4 separate regions of the Homo sapiens genome follow, and regions 1, 2 and 3 are each linked to region 4. The links are contacts of gene promoters, found by promoter capture Hi-C in blood cells and fetal thymus (Javierre and others, 2016). All regions are on one chromosome and are shown on one strand. The core of a region is centred on a gene start or on the middle of the fragment in contact, and the rest is flanking DNA. Distances in the headings are between cores, read along the strand shown. Region 1 overlaps TPTEP2-CSNK1E (TPTEP2-CSNK1E readthrough). Region 2 overlaps TPTEP2-CSNK1E (TPTEP2-CSNK1E readthrough). Region 3 overlaps TMEM184B (transmembrane protein 184B). Region 4 holds the start of BAIAP2L2 (BAR/IMD domain containing adaptor protein 2 like 2).

Evidence for each region. The method cuts DNA at HindIII sites, captures the fragments that hold promoters and counts their contacts. A CHiCAGO score of 5 or more calls a contact.
Region 1: a contact is called between a fragment that was not itself captured here and the fragment with the promoter of BAIAP2L2 in region 4, in 1 of 17 cell types (M0 macrophages). The highest score is 5.0, in M0 macrophages.
Region 2: a fragment that was not itself captured here is called in contact with the fragment with the promoter of BAIAP2L2 in region 4 in 3 of 17 cell types (endothelial precursors, M2 macrophages and M1 macrophages); the score reaches 6.6 in endothelial precursors.
Region 3: a fragment that was not itself captured here is called in contact with the fragment with the promoter of BAIAP2L2 in region 4 in 2 of 17 cell types (M0 macrophages and M2 macrophages); the score reaches 8.6 in M0 macrophages.

Annotation. Positions count from the first base shown.
Region 1 is chr22:38,334,075-38,336,774 of GRCh38, reverse strand. TPTEP2-CSNK1E (TPTEP2-CSNK1E readthrough) reads left to right here. Exons shown (of 15, transcript NM_001289912.2): 5 at 69-167. Among named protein-coding and RNA genes, the nearest start is that of CSNK1E, 18 kb to the right of the region's middle. The HindIII fragment of the contact is 1,450 bases long and covers 647-2,096 here.
Region 2 is chr22:38,302,393-38,305,123 of GRCh38, reverse strand. It overlaps TPTEP2-CSNK1E (TPTEP2-CSNK1E readthrough), which reads left to right. Exons shown (of 15, transcript NM_001289912.2): 7 at 1,876-1,986; 8 at 2,115-2,263. CSNK1E (casein kinase 1 epsilon) reads left to right here. Exons shown (of 11, transcript NM_152221.3): 3 at 1,876-1,986; 4 at 2,115-2,263. Among named protein-coding and RNA genes, the nearest start is that of CSNK1E, 14 kb to the left of the region's middle. The HindIII fragment of the contact is 3,411 bases long and covers 1-2,731 here.
Region 3 is chr22:38,265,018-38,267,717 of GRCh38, reverse strand. All of the region lies in intron 1 of TMEM184B (transmembrane protein 184B), which reads left to right. Among named protein-coding and RNA genes, the nearest start is that of TMEM184B, 6.6 kb to the left of the region's middle. The HindIII fragment of the contact is 1,957 bases long and covers 404-2,360 here.
Region 4 is chr22:38,109,122-38,112,012 of GRCh38, reverse strand. BAIAP2L2 (BAR/IMD domain containing adaptor protein 2 like 2) reads left to right here and starts at 1,329. Exons shown (of 14, transcript NM_025045.6): 1 at 1,329-1,538; 2 at 2,805-2,880. The coding sequence starts at 1,488. It overlaps PLA2G6 (phospholipase A2 group VI), which reads left to right. Exons shown (of 17, transcript NM_003560.4): 17 at 1-518. The HindIII fragment of the contact is 13,026 bases long and covers 1-2,891 here.

The DNA of each region.
Region 1 (2,700 bases), core at 122-2,621, 220 kb before region 4:
GCAGGTGTCAGATCCAAAGATAACTTGACCCAAACACCCCGATCTCCATGTCCCTATCTCTCTCTTAGGTGTTGGAGCGGGCCGGAGAGAAGTAGAGTGGGCTGCGAGGAGAAGGAAACAGGCCTTTCGGAGGCTCCTCATCCCTCGGAGGTCATCCCTTACTCCAGGTGATCTGAACCTGAAGTCCGAGGCCCCAAGAGTTCTAAGTAACCCAGGGGTGGAGGTGGGGTGGGGGATCCCAGCTCTTTCCGATCTGGGAGATCAGAAAGATGCTCATCTGGGAGAGTGGGACCTCCCCTTTCAGTCCGCCCACCCCCGAGGACCGCACTTGGAGGGCCGCACTTGGAGGACCGCGCCTCCAAGGCGGGCGCGGCTGACGCCCGGGGCCCAGGCCATGTGGGGCGTGCGTGCCGGGAGAAGTGTCCCAGCGCCTCACCCCGCAAGCATGAGAACCACGAAACCCCCGGGGCCGGGAAACCGGGGCGGGGCGGGGCGGGGCGGGGCCGGGAAGCGGCGCGGGGCTGGGCCGGTGACGTCGCGGCCCCGCCCCCGGCCGGCTCCCTCCTCCCGGAGCGCTCCCCAGCGGAGTCCTCACCTGCAGGCACAGGTGTGCGCACTTCGCATCTCGAAGGCCGGCCAGCAAGCTTCAGGTGAGCGCCAGCAGCAGCTGGGGGTAGGTGCTGGGAGGAGGAGGGCCCGGGGTGGGGGTCCTCACTCGACGGAGAGGAGAACCGGGTCAAAGGAGAGGAGGAGGAGGTGGGCGTGGGTCTGTGGAGATACTGCCTGCTCCCCCCAAATCCTCCCTTGTCTCTGGGTTATAGTCACGTTGTCCTGAAAACGTAGACTTTGGAGGGAATTGAAGGAGAGGAAGTTGAAGAGGAAGCAGCAGGTTTCCAAATATTTCAACCGCAAATGTATTGTTATCATTCTTCTTATTATTTATTTGTTTGTTTTGTTTTTTTGAGACGGAGGCTCACTCTGTTGCTGGCACGATCTCGGCTCACTGCAACCTCTGCCTCCCGGGTTCAAGAAATTCTCCTGCCTCGGCCTCCCTAGTAGCTGGGATTACAGGCATGCACCACCACGCCCGGCTAATTTTTGTGTGTTTTTAGTAGAGACAGGGTTTCGGCTGGTCTCCAAACTCTGACCTCAGGTGATCCGCCCTCCTCGGCCTCCCAAAGTGCTGGGATTACAGGCGTGAGCCACCGCACCCGGCCCTATAATTCTTTTTATTATTATCATTATTATCATTGGTGCCTTTTCTTTGTTGTAAAACTGTATGCCGATTGACTATTTGGCAAATGTAGAAAAGTAGGAAAGAAATCATCCATAGTACCAGGACACAATCACTCTGGATATTTTGGTGTGTTTCCTTTCAGTCTTTTTTCCATGCACAACCATTTTCATATAATTTTATCATACTGTATCTGCAACTTTTATGTCCTGCTTTTCCCTTGAATATTGTGTCATAAGCATTTTCTCGTTGTGGTGAGTCATTTGTGTATGTGTAATCATTGTTTTAATGGCTGCATAATGTAACATTTGAGAGATTGACCATGGTTGGGTACCATTCTGAACACTCCATGGAAGATTATGAAGGGAGACCGGGAGATGTAACAGAAAAAAACAGGCCAAGACCTCCACCGCCAACACTGGGATCTGGATAAAGACCTTTGCTCTCTCTAACCATGAGTTTCCACATCTGGAAAGTGGGTACATAGAGCTACCTCCCCAGGGTGTTGTGAAGATTAAATGAGCTAAATTATGTAGGCCCTGTCCCCACAAACACCGCCATCATGGGTCTGGCAGAAAAAGGGTCTGCATGTTTGTGTGTTTGTAGAAAGGACTTGGACCAACTGAAGGTATTGAGGGACCAGAGAACGGGAAGTGCTGGGGAGAGAAGGACGGGGATGAGCTCTTGGGAAAACCCCCAGAATGAAGACATCTCTGAGTCTGGGCCAGGTGGACACGAACCACTAGGTCGGCGCATATCCGCTCCTTGTGGGCTGGGAGCAGACAGGATCCCTGAGCCAGGGCCAATGACCTCCAGGCCTCCAGATGGGTTCGCCCCTTTGGGATGAGTTTCTGGGCAAGCTTCAGAGTGAGGGGATTAGAAGAAAAATAGGAAGGGGTGAAGGTGGGGCATAGTAACCAACCCCTTGTACAGATGAGGAAACAGGCTCAGAAGACAGGTGATTTGTTCAAGATCCACATGGGAAACAGTAACCGAGTCGGTTTGGCCCCCAGGGCTCCTAACTCCCTCAGGGGTGTCTACACCAAATGCCTGGATGGGGGAGTTAGGGAGAGGAGGATGTCAGGGCTGGGTCATCAGCTGTACTTGTACCAGGCTAATCTTTGCTTAGAGAAAACAGAAGTCTCTGTGCTTTGGGCCTCCGTTTCCTCAACTGTGAAATGGGAATAATAACTCCCCAGCTACCTACTTACCAGGCCCTCCTCCCACTTTGAAAGGCCTGCTCAGTCTCTGACTGTACACCCCCACCCTGGCCCCTCATCTTCTTAACTCCCTGGCCATCTTCAGAGGGGGTCTGGGTGCTGGGAACCTGTGGCCACACCTCAGTGGGATAGGAAATCCCCATTTCCCAGAGCCATCCATTTCTAGACCCTGGGGGGCTTGCTCCGTTTCTCTAACCGGGCTTTTTTGTAATGTGCACCCACAGCACGCTCTCACTGGATGAGAGC
Region 2 (2,731 bases), core at 190-2,689, 190 kb before region 4:
TTGAGCTGGAGTTTCACTCCGTCACCCAGGCTAGCGTGCAATGGCACAATCTCGGCTCACTGCAACCTCCGCCTCCTGGGTTCAAGTGATTCTCCTGCCTCAGCCTCCCAAGTAGCTGGGATTACAGATGCCTGCCACTGCGCCCGGCTAATTTTTGTATTTTTGGTACAGACAGGGTTTCACCACCTTGGCTGGGCTGGTCTCGGACTCCTGACCTTGTGATCCACCCGCCTCAGCCTCCCAAAGTATTGGGATTACGGGCGTGAGCCACTGTGCCTGGCCTCGGGTAGAATGTTTTCAAGGTGCACTCGTGTCGTAGCGTGTATCGGTACTTTATTCCTCTTTATTGCTGAATAATATTCCGCCGCATGGAGGCACTGCATTCCATTCATCCTTGCATCTGTGACAGATGTTTGTTGTTTCCACCCTCTGGCTGCTGTGAGGAGTGCACCCCTGGGACCAGGGTCATTGTGTGAAGCAGGCATCCTTTCCTCTTCACTGCCGCCTGGGATTCCCTGGTGACTGCGCCACTGTTCCTGTTCTTCTGCTGCTGAGCACTTGGGCTGTTTGCTCCTGTGTCCATCCTTGTCCTGTCCCCCTGGTGCACACGTGTTTCTGAAGGATGTACACTCAGGAGTGGGGTTGCTTGGGCGAGCGTTTGTTTATGTTCAGCTTCACCCAAGAGGTGCACAGGGGCTGTGCCAACTCACACCCACACCTTTATTTCTTATATACAAACTTTTCCTCTACTTGAGATTTCTCCTGGTTGTGGTGTGAGCCATGGTGTCTTTTCTCAGGTGGCCAGCCGGTTGTTCAGGGACATTATTAATGAACAGTCTCATCTTTTCCTCTGATGTGAGGTCCTGCCTTTCTCCTGTCTTGAACTCCTCCTGAGGCTGTGTCCCTGGGGGTTGTTCTGGCCTGTTTGTGTCCTGTTGCGACACTGTCCTACTCCTCCTGCTGGGCTCGCTGCTGGCCCCAGGAAGGAGACACCCTGTCGCCCAGCCTAGCCCCAGCCCTTCATCTCATCCACCCATACAGCCAGGGAAACTGAGGCAAGGTACACTTTGGGCTTGGTCTTTCTTGTGACTTCTTGAGTTGGGCAGTGGGCCCAGGCAGAGAGCGGGGCCTTGGTGTGTGTGAGGGTATTTTCTTAGAGCCCCTTGAGAAGCCAGGAGTGGACTGGGGGAGACGGGGAGGTGCAGGCAGGACCTCTGACCTATGCTGGAGGCCAGCAGAGCCGGGGTTGATCTCAAGGCCGCCATTTACAGGTCAGGTGACCTTGAGCTGGGTCTCTAGCTGGGTCTCTGTTTTCTCATCTCTACAAGGGGGTTGAGAATCGAATGAGACACTGGATTAGAATGTGCAGGGCTGCCTCTGAAGGCATCAGCATTGACTGAGGGGTTGCTGCGGCTGTCCCATCCTCATCCTGTAGGCCAGGGTGGTCCTGGCTTGTTCTGGTGTGTTCGGCAGCCCAGCCCCATTGGGCCTCTTCTGCACGTGCCACCATCTCAACCCGACAGACCTCACTGCCTGAATTTGCTCTAGGACTCAGCCCCCTCCCTTAGGTGGTCTGTGAGCCTTTTGCATACCTGACCCTTGCCCCACTCACATCGGGCCTTCTTGTCGCCCCAACCTGTGGCCCTGGGTAGCCCTTGTGTGTCACCTCTGTCCCTCACAGCGCTGACCTTCTTTCCCCTCAGGAACCCTTTGCCGGGGCTCCTTTGCCCCCTTCCCAGCCTCCCCCAAGAGCTCCTCAAGGGCAGATGGCCCCGGGCCCGGCACACGCCAGATCTCAGAAATGCTTAGTGGGGCGCCTGGGACTGCCTGGCCTTTGAGGGTGACCCTGGTCCCTTGCCTCCCTGCCCCGGGCAGGTGCCAACATCGCCTCTGGTGAGGAAGTCGCCATCAAGCTGGAGTGTGTGAAGACAAAGCACCCCCAGCTGCACATCGAGAGCAAGTTCTACAAGATGATGCAGGGTGGCGGTGAGCGCAGGGTGGGCGGCGGCGGGCGCCGGGTGGGTGGCGGTGGGCAGCCATGAGCACAGGGTGGGCCGGGCGTGGCTGGCTGCCTGCCTCTGACCCCTGACAGAGGCCCTCTGCTTGACCCCCAGTGGGGATCCCGTCCATCAAGTGGTGCGGAGCTGAGGGCGACTACAACGTGATGGTCATGGAGCTGCTGGGGCCTAGCCTCGAGGACCTGTTCAACTTCTGTTCCCGCAAATTCAGCCTCAAGACGGTGCTGCTCTTGGCCGACCAGATGGTGAGTCCCCGTCCCCTCCATCCCCAGCCAGATGCCTGTGGGCCCAGGATACCAGCCCTGCCTCCTGCCCCCAGAGGATGCCAGAGGATGGGCCTGGGCCAGGGGACCTTGTCCACTGGCTATAGAATTGTAGGTGTTTATTTATTTTTTGAGGCGGAGTCTCACTCTGTCGCCCAGGCTGGAGCGCAGTGGTGCGATCTCAGCTCGTTGCAACATCCGCCTCCCAGGTTCACGCGATTCTCCTGCCTCAGCCTCATGAGTAGCTGGGATTACAGGCACCTGCCACCACGCTGGGCTAATTTTTGTATTTTTAGTAGAGACAGAGTTTTACCAAGTGATCCGCCCATCTTAGCCTCTCAAAGTGCTGGGATTACAGGCGTGAGCCACCGTGCCCAGCCAAGTTGTTTATTTAAAATGTGATTTCAGGCCCAACTCCAGACCTGCCGAGTCAGGGCCTGGGACTCTGCC
Region 3 (2,700 bases), core at 133-2,632, 160 kb before region 4:
CTCACACCTGTAATCCCAGTACTTTGGGAGGCCGAGGTGGGCAGATCACTTGAGCTCAGGAATTGGAGACCAGCCTGGCCAACATGGTGAAACCCCGTCTCTACTAAAAATACAAAAATCAGCCAGGTGTGGTGGCATGTGCCTGTAAACCCAGCTACTTGGGAGGCTGAGGCAGGAGAATTGCCTGAACCTGGGAGGCGGAGGTTGCAGTGAGCTGAGACTACGCCATTGCACTCCAGCCTGGGTGACAGCGAAACTCCATCTCAAAAAAAAAAAAAAAAAGATATTAGGGGTGGTTGGAACAGGATTGGTTATTCCAGGAGCCGGTGGTGCTCACTAAACAGCCTTGAGTCTGGCTGGCTGGTGTGGGAGGTCTTAGGCCTGTGATGGGAGACAGGAAGCTTGGTGGACACCTCCTTTTCCTTCTCTGGGGTGGAAACCACAGGGGAAGATCCACCCAGAAAGCCTTTGTGCTGAACCTGCGTCACTTCCAGCTCAACCATGTTTTACAAAGTCACATCCCACTAAGTGAATATTTGGTGAAAAGTTTGCCACGTTGATCTCAGTCTTGTACCTTTGAAAAACAATAGGCTTCTCTGAGATTAGAAGTAGTACTTGTTTTTTTTTTTTTTTTGAGACAGAGTTTTGCTCTGTCGCCCAGGCAGACAGTGCAGTGGTGCGATTTCGGCTCACTGCAAGCTCCGCTTCCCGGGTTCAAGCCATTCTCCTGCCTCAGCCTCCCGAGTAGCTGGGAGTACAGGCACCTGCCACGGCGCCCGGCTAATTTTTTGTATTTTTAGTAGAGGCAGGATTTCACCGTGTTAGCCAGGATGGTCTCGATCTTCTGACCTCTTGATCCACCCGCCTCGGCCTCCCAAAGTGCTGGGATTACAGGCGTGAGCCACCGTACCCGGCCGTACTTGTTGATAGTAAACTTGAAGCACAGGAAAGATTGGGGATAAGAATAAAAATTACCCCAAATTTCCAAATCAAGAAGTAATCATGGTTCAGGTTTGGGCAGATGTTCTTTCTAGGCATGAACACACGTTATCTCATTGTTTACTTAACACCGGGTTATAAACATTTACCCATAGCATTTGAAAGGTAGCTATAGATAGAAAAGAATCAGAGAAGTTCTAAAACAGCTCTTGCGCTTTGTTTCAAATTCTCTGCAGGAAAGATGAGGTCTTCAGCCTTTTTTTTAGCTGGACGGCACCGTTGCAGCAGTGGTGAACAGGGCACTGGATTGAGTCAGGAAACCCAGCTGTGACCTTGGGCAAGCCACTTGCCCTCTTTGAGCTTCACTCCTGCTAAGGCAAGGGGCGCTATTCGTACCCTGTCTGCCCACCTCACAGGCTCTGGTGAAGTCCTTGATTTGAACGCCTTTAGCTCCCAAGGTTGTGGTTTGGAGATAGGGCAGGTCACATGACCATGAAGACTGAAGGAGAAACGTGGAAGCACGTGTGCCTGTTGCTTCTTTTCCAACTTAAAATGCTTGGTGATCTCCTGAAGACTCCAGCCTCCTCTCTGGGAAGCCAGGATCCACAGACCCTTTACCTGCGGGTCATGGGCAGTCCCAGATGGTCCCCCTCCCCAACAGAGGGGGTGCAGTGAGACCTCCGGAAGTTACTGCCTCTGTTACCCTCAAAGGGATTTTCAGATCAGACAGCCCCCCTACTCCAAGGGACGTGTGTGGAGCTTGGTACCTTTATTTATCTCCTGCTCCAACCCCTGTGGACTGCCTGCACCCAGAATGGGGCCTCTCCTGCTGGCAAGTGGCTGAGAACCTCCACTCCACTCAGCAGGGCTGTTCCCCATTTACCGAAAAGCTCCGAGAGAAAATAACTAACCCCATGGCGCCGCTGTAGCTACTGGCAGAGCCTCCTGGTCCCCACCTCTAGCGCCTGTGGTTTTTGTTTCATGCAGAGTGAGCAGTGAATCTGGGATCCCATCAGCAGTCAGTTTGGGTGCCTGCGAGGCACAATGATAGATGTTGGTGAAGGGTATGTGTGAGGATATTAATTAATATTAACATGCTAGTTATATTAATATTCTCATTGGAATTTGTGGGGCTTTGCAAGTTATATTTCAAATATATGGTTTTATGTAATCCTTTTAACTGCCCTGAAACCTTGAAATTATTGCACCTATTTTATAGATGGAGAGACTGAGGCTCAGAGGGGTGAATTGCCTAAGATCCTGGGGGAGGAAGCACCCAGGTTTTCTGGTTTTGAGTCCTGGGCCCTTCCTGCTGAGTAGCTACCCCCAACACAGACCTGCCCTTGGAGAGCTTGCAGCCACACTGGGAAGGCCAGTGTATTGGATTGCTGCTTAGACCTGGAAAGCACGTGAATAAAGCTTCAGGTTAAAACCATGGGGGTTCCAGGAGGCAGCAGTCGGCTCTGCCTGGGGGTGAGCTGAGGAGCCGGTGCTCTCTGGAACAAGGGTAGTTGGGCTGAGGCTCAGTGGACAGTGGAGGTTGGCAGGTGAAGTGCAGGAGGTCTTTGCAGGGAGTGGGACCACCTTGAGCACACACAGAGGAATGAGACAGGCAGGTTACTCAAGGAGCAGAGGTCTCGTGACCACTTCCCAGAGCATGTGGGGTCCTAGCCTCATCTCCAGGAGGAGAAAGTGCATCTATACACAGATTTGTCAATGGAGTTTAAATAGGATGTGGGAAAATCTAGATTTTCCAAAACA
Region 4 (2,891 bases), core at 80-2,579:
GAGGCTGGTCCTGAAGGCCTGTCTCCCACTAACCCCGCCTTCCAGCACTTTCTGTCATTCCAGGCTGGGAAAGTCTAGAGCCCCCTTTGGCCCCTTTCCCTGACTGTCAAGGACAACTGACTCCCCCATCAGCTCAAACATTAAGGGTACCCGGGCACAACCGTACCCCTGCCCCCAGCCCCAGCCTCCCTGAGGGCCTGCCGGGCTGCCTCTGCCCCAGCCCCCAGCAAGGGCACTCCCAGGCTTCCTGGTGGGTGCAGCCCACTCCCTCTGCCCTCTGCTCCGTTCCCTGGGGGCTGGGACTAAAGAAATGGGTGTCCCCCACCCCATCAGCTGGGAAAGCCCAGGCCGCAGGAGTGGGATGCCCGTTGGACTTTGCCCCTCACACTGGCCCAGCCCCTCACACTGCCCCACCCCGAGAACCCTCAGCTCTCAAAGGTCACTCCTGGGAGTTTCTTCTTCCCAATGGAAGTGGCTTAAGAGCCAAAACTGAAATAAATCATTTGGATTCAAGTTCACCTGTGTTGTGTGTGCAGTGGTGTGAGATCCACCTGTTCCCCTGACCCCCGGCTCCCCTCGGCCTTGACCCTTGGCCTTGACCGGACTTTTCCTTTGTACCCGGACACTCTGTTTTCCAGGATCCCTGGGCAGGGACACCTCCTCTTTCCTCTAGGCCTCCCCTAAACCGGCCCTTAGGGTATGCAGAGGCAGCTGCCAGGCCCACATACCCCCGGCAGGCCCAAGGAGGGCCACAATCTTCAACTTCATCTTGGAGGACCAGGGAGAGCCCCATTTGTCACCCAGAGAGGCCGGGGACTCCGCGTGGACAGGCAGCGCGTGTGCAGGGCCGAGGTCTGCCCAGGGCTGGGCAACTCCAGCGTTTGTGCTGCTCCTGCTCCGGCAAGTGGAGGAGCTGGGCGGGCCAGAGCGGCTGTGGGAGCCAAGCTCAGAGGGCGTGGCCCCACTGTGAGCCGCAGGCCTGAGGACAGTGAGAAGTAAAGCGGCGTTCCCCTCCAGGGGCTGCTGCTGCTGGGTCTGGCAGAGAGAGTCCTGGGGGAGGGCATCGGGCAGCGCCCGCCCAGTAAGGTGGGCAATGCCTGGTATAGGCAGGTGGGAGGGCGGGGCCCCCCAGGGTTGGGGTCCTTGAGGAGGGGGTGACCCAGGAGGGGGCTCATCCACATGGGCACTTGTATCAGCCCACAGCTCCAAGGGGTGAATAATTGAAGGGCAGGTCACACGAGCCTGCCCGGCACAGGATGCCTTCCCTGCCGGATCTGGTTACGCCCCAGATCACATTCTGACATCCCGAGTTGGTGAATAATTAAGCTGCCACTCCTCTGAGGCAGGCCTCCATCTCCAGGTCCCTCTCCGAGGCTTCCTCGCTGCCAGCTGAGTCGTGGGCACCTGAGGGACTACCTACCACTGCTCCCGGCTGTGCCATCGCCACCAGCTCCCAGCCTCCTGCTCAGACCCGGGACAGCCCCTCCATGGCCCCCGAGATGGACCAGTTCTACAGGTCCACCATGGCCATCTACAAGGTGAGCACATGGGTGGCCAAGCCAGGCCTGAGCCCCTCCTCCCAGGGCACAGAAATCAGGCCCGCTCTGGAGGACGGAGGGCCAGCCGGGGCTACAGATGTCCTGGAAAGGGAAGCCTGGAGCCAGGCTGGGCCAGGGGTGGGTACGGGGGTAAGGATCCCCGAGAGCACTCAGCCATACAGCGGGAACCCCCAACTCCCAGATGCTGGACAAGGCAGGAGGGAGCCCAAGGCCCAGGGTGGGGAGAGTTGAGTCTGGATGAGAAGGGCCTGGCTGCCCGGCCTGGGAATAAAGAAAGACCCTCCCTCTCTCTCTCTGTCTCTCCCTCTCTCTCTCTCTCTCTCTCTCTCTCTCCCTCTCTCTCTCCCTCTCTCTGTCTCTCTCTCTCTCTGTCTCTCTCTCTCTCTGTCTCTCTCTCTCTCTCTGTCTCTCCCTGTCTCTGTCTCTCTCATTTCTGAGCCCCTCAGACTTCCTACTTCACCCCCGGGGGGTTGTTGCAGCCGCCACAGACATTTATTGAGCGCCTCCTGTGTGCAGGACCCTTTCACCTGGAGGCCTCACACCACCCACCTGTGAGGTGGAAAATGACCACCCTGCTTGATAGATGAGAAAACTGAGACCAAAGAGGTTAAACAGCTCATTCAAGGTCACGGAGGGAGGAAGAGGTGCTGCTGGGATTTGAACCGAGACCCAAGTCCAAGTCCAGGCCCAAGTCCAGGCCCGTCTTCACCATCCGGGGAGCTCTCTGCCCGGCCCCAGCCCGAGGAGGCCCACACTAATCCAGCCACAGCCTTGCCCATGGGGGGCTGTTCTCGGAGGAGGGCGAGAGCTGCCCTTGCCCCGGGGGTGACTGTTGGCAGCCCCAGGCGTGTAGCCCGGCAAGGCCTGGACACAGGGCAGGGCTGAGCCGTGCCCAGTGGGGACCACAGCAGGCGGGCCAGCTTCTGCCCAGCGGGAGGAGGAGAACCTTCCAGGTGCACCATCTCGGGAGGCACCTCGGTCCCGCCAGAGCAGACGTAAGCGGGAGCTGGCTGTGAGGGGACCACAGCTTAGAACAGGACCCCAAAAGATGGGCTCTGAGGTCCCTGCAGCCAAGAGCCAGGATTCTGGGTGAGCCTAGGTTTGTAGATGGGCCCCCCAAAGTCTGGGGCTTCTCACTGGGCTGGGGGTGCCCTGTCCCTGACGCCTGGTGACTTGACTCCATCCGTGGTTCCTTCTCGCTCCCCCATCTCTACACCTTTTTCCTCCCCTGACCCTGGGGTCCAGAGCATCATGGAGCAGTTTAACCCCGCCCTGGAGAACCTGGTGTACCTGGGCAACAACTACCTGCGTGCCTTCCACGGTGAGTGCCTG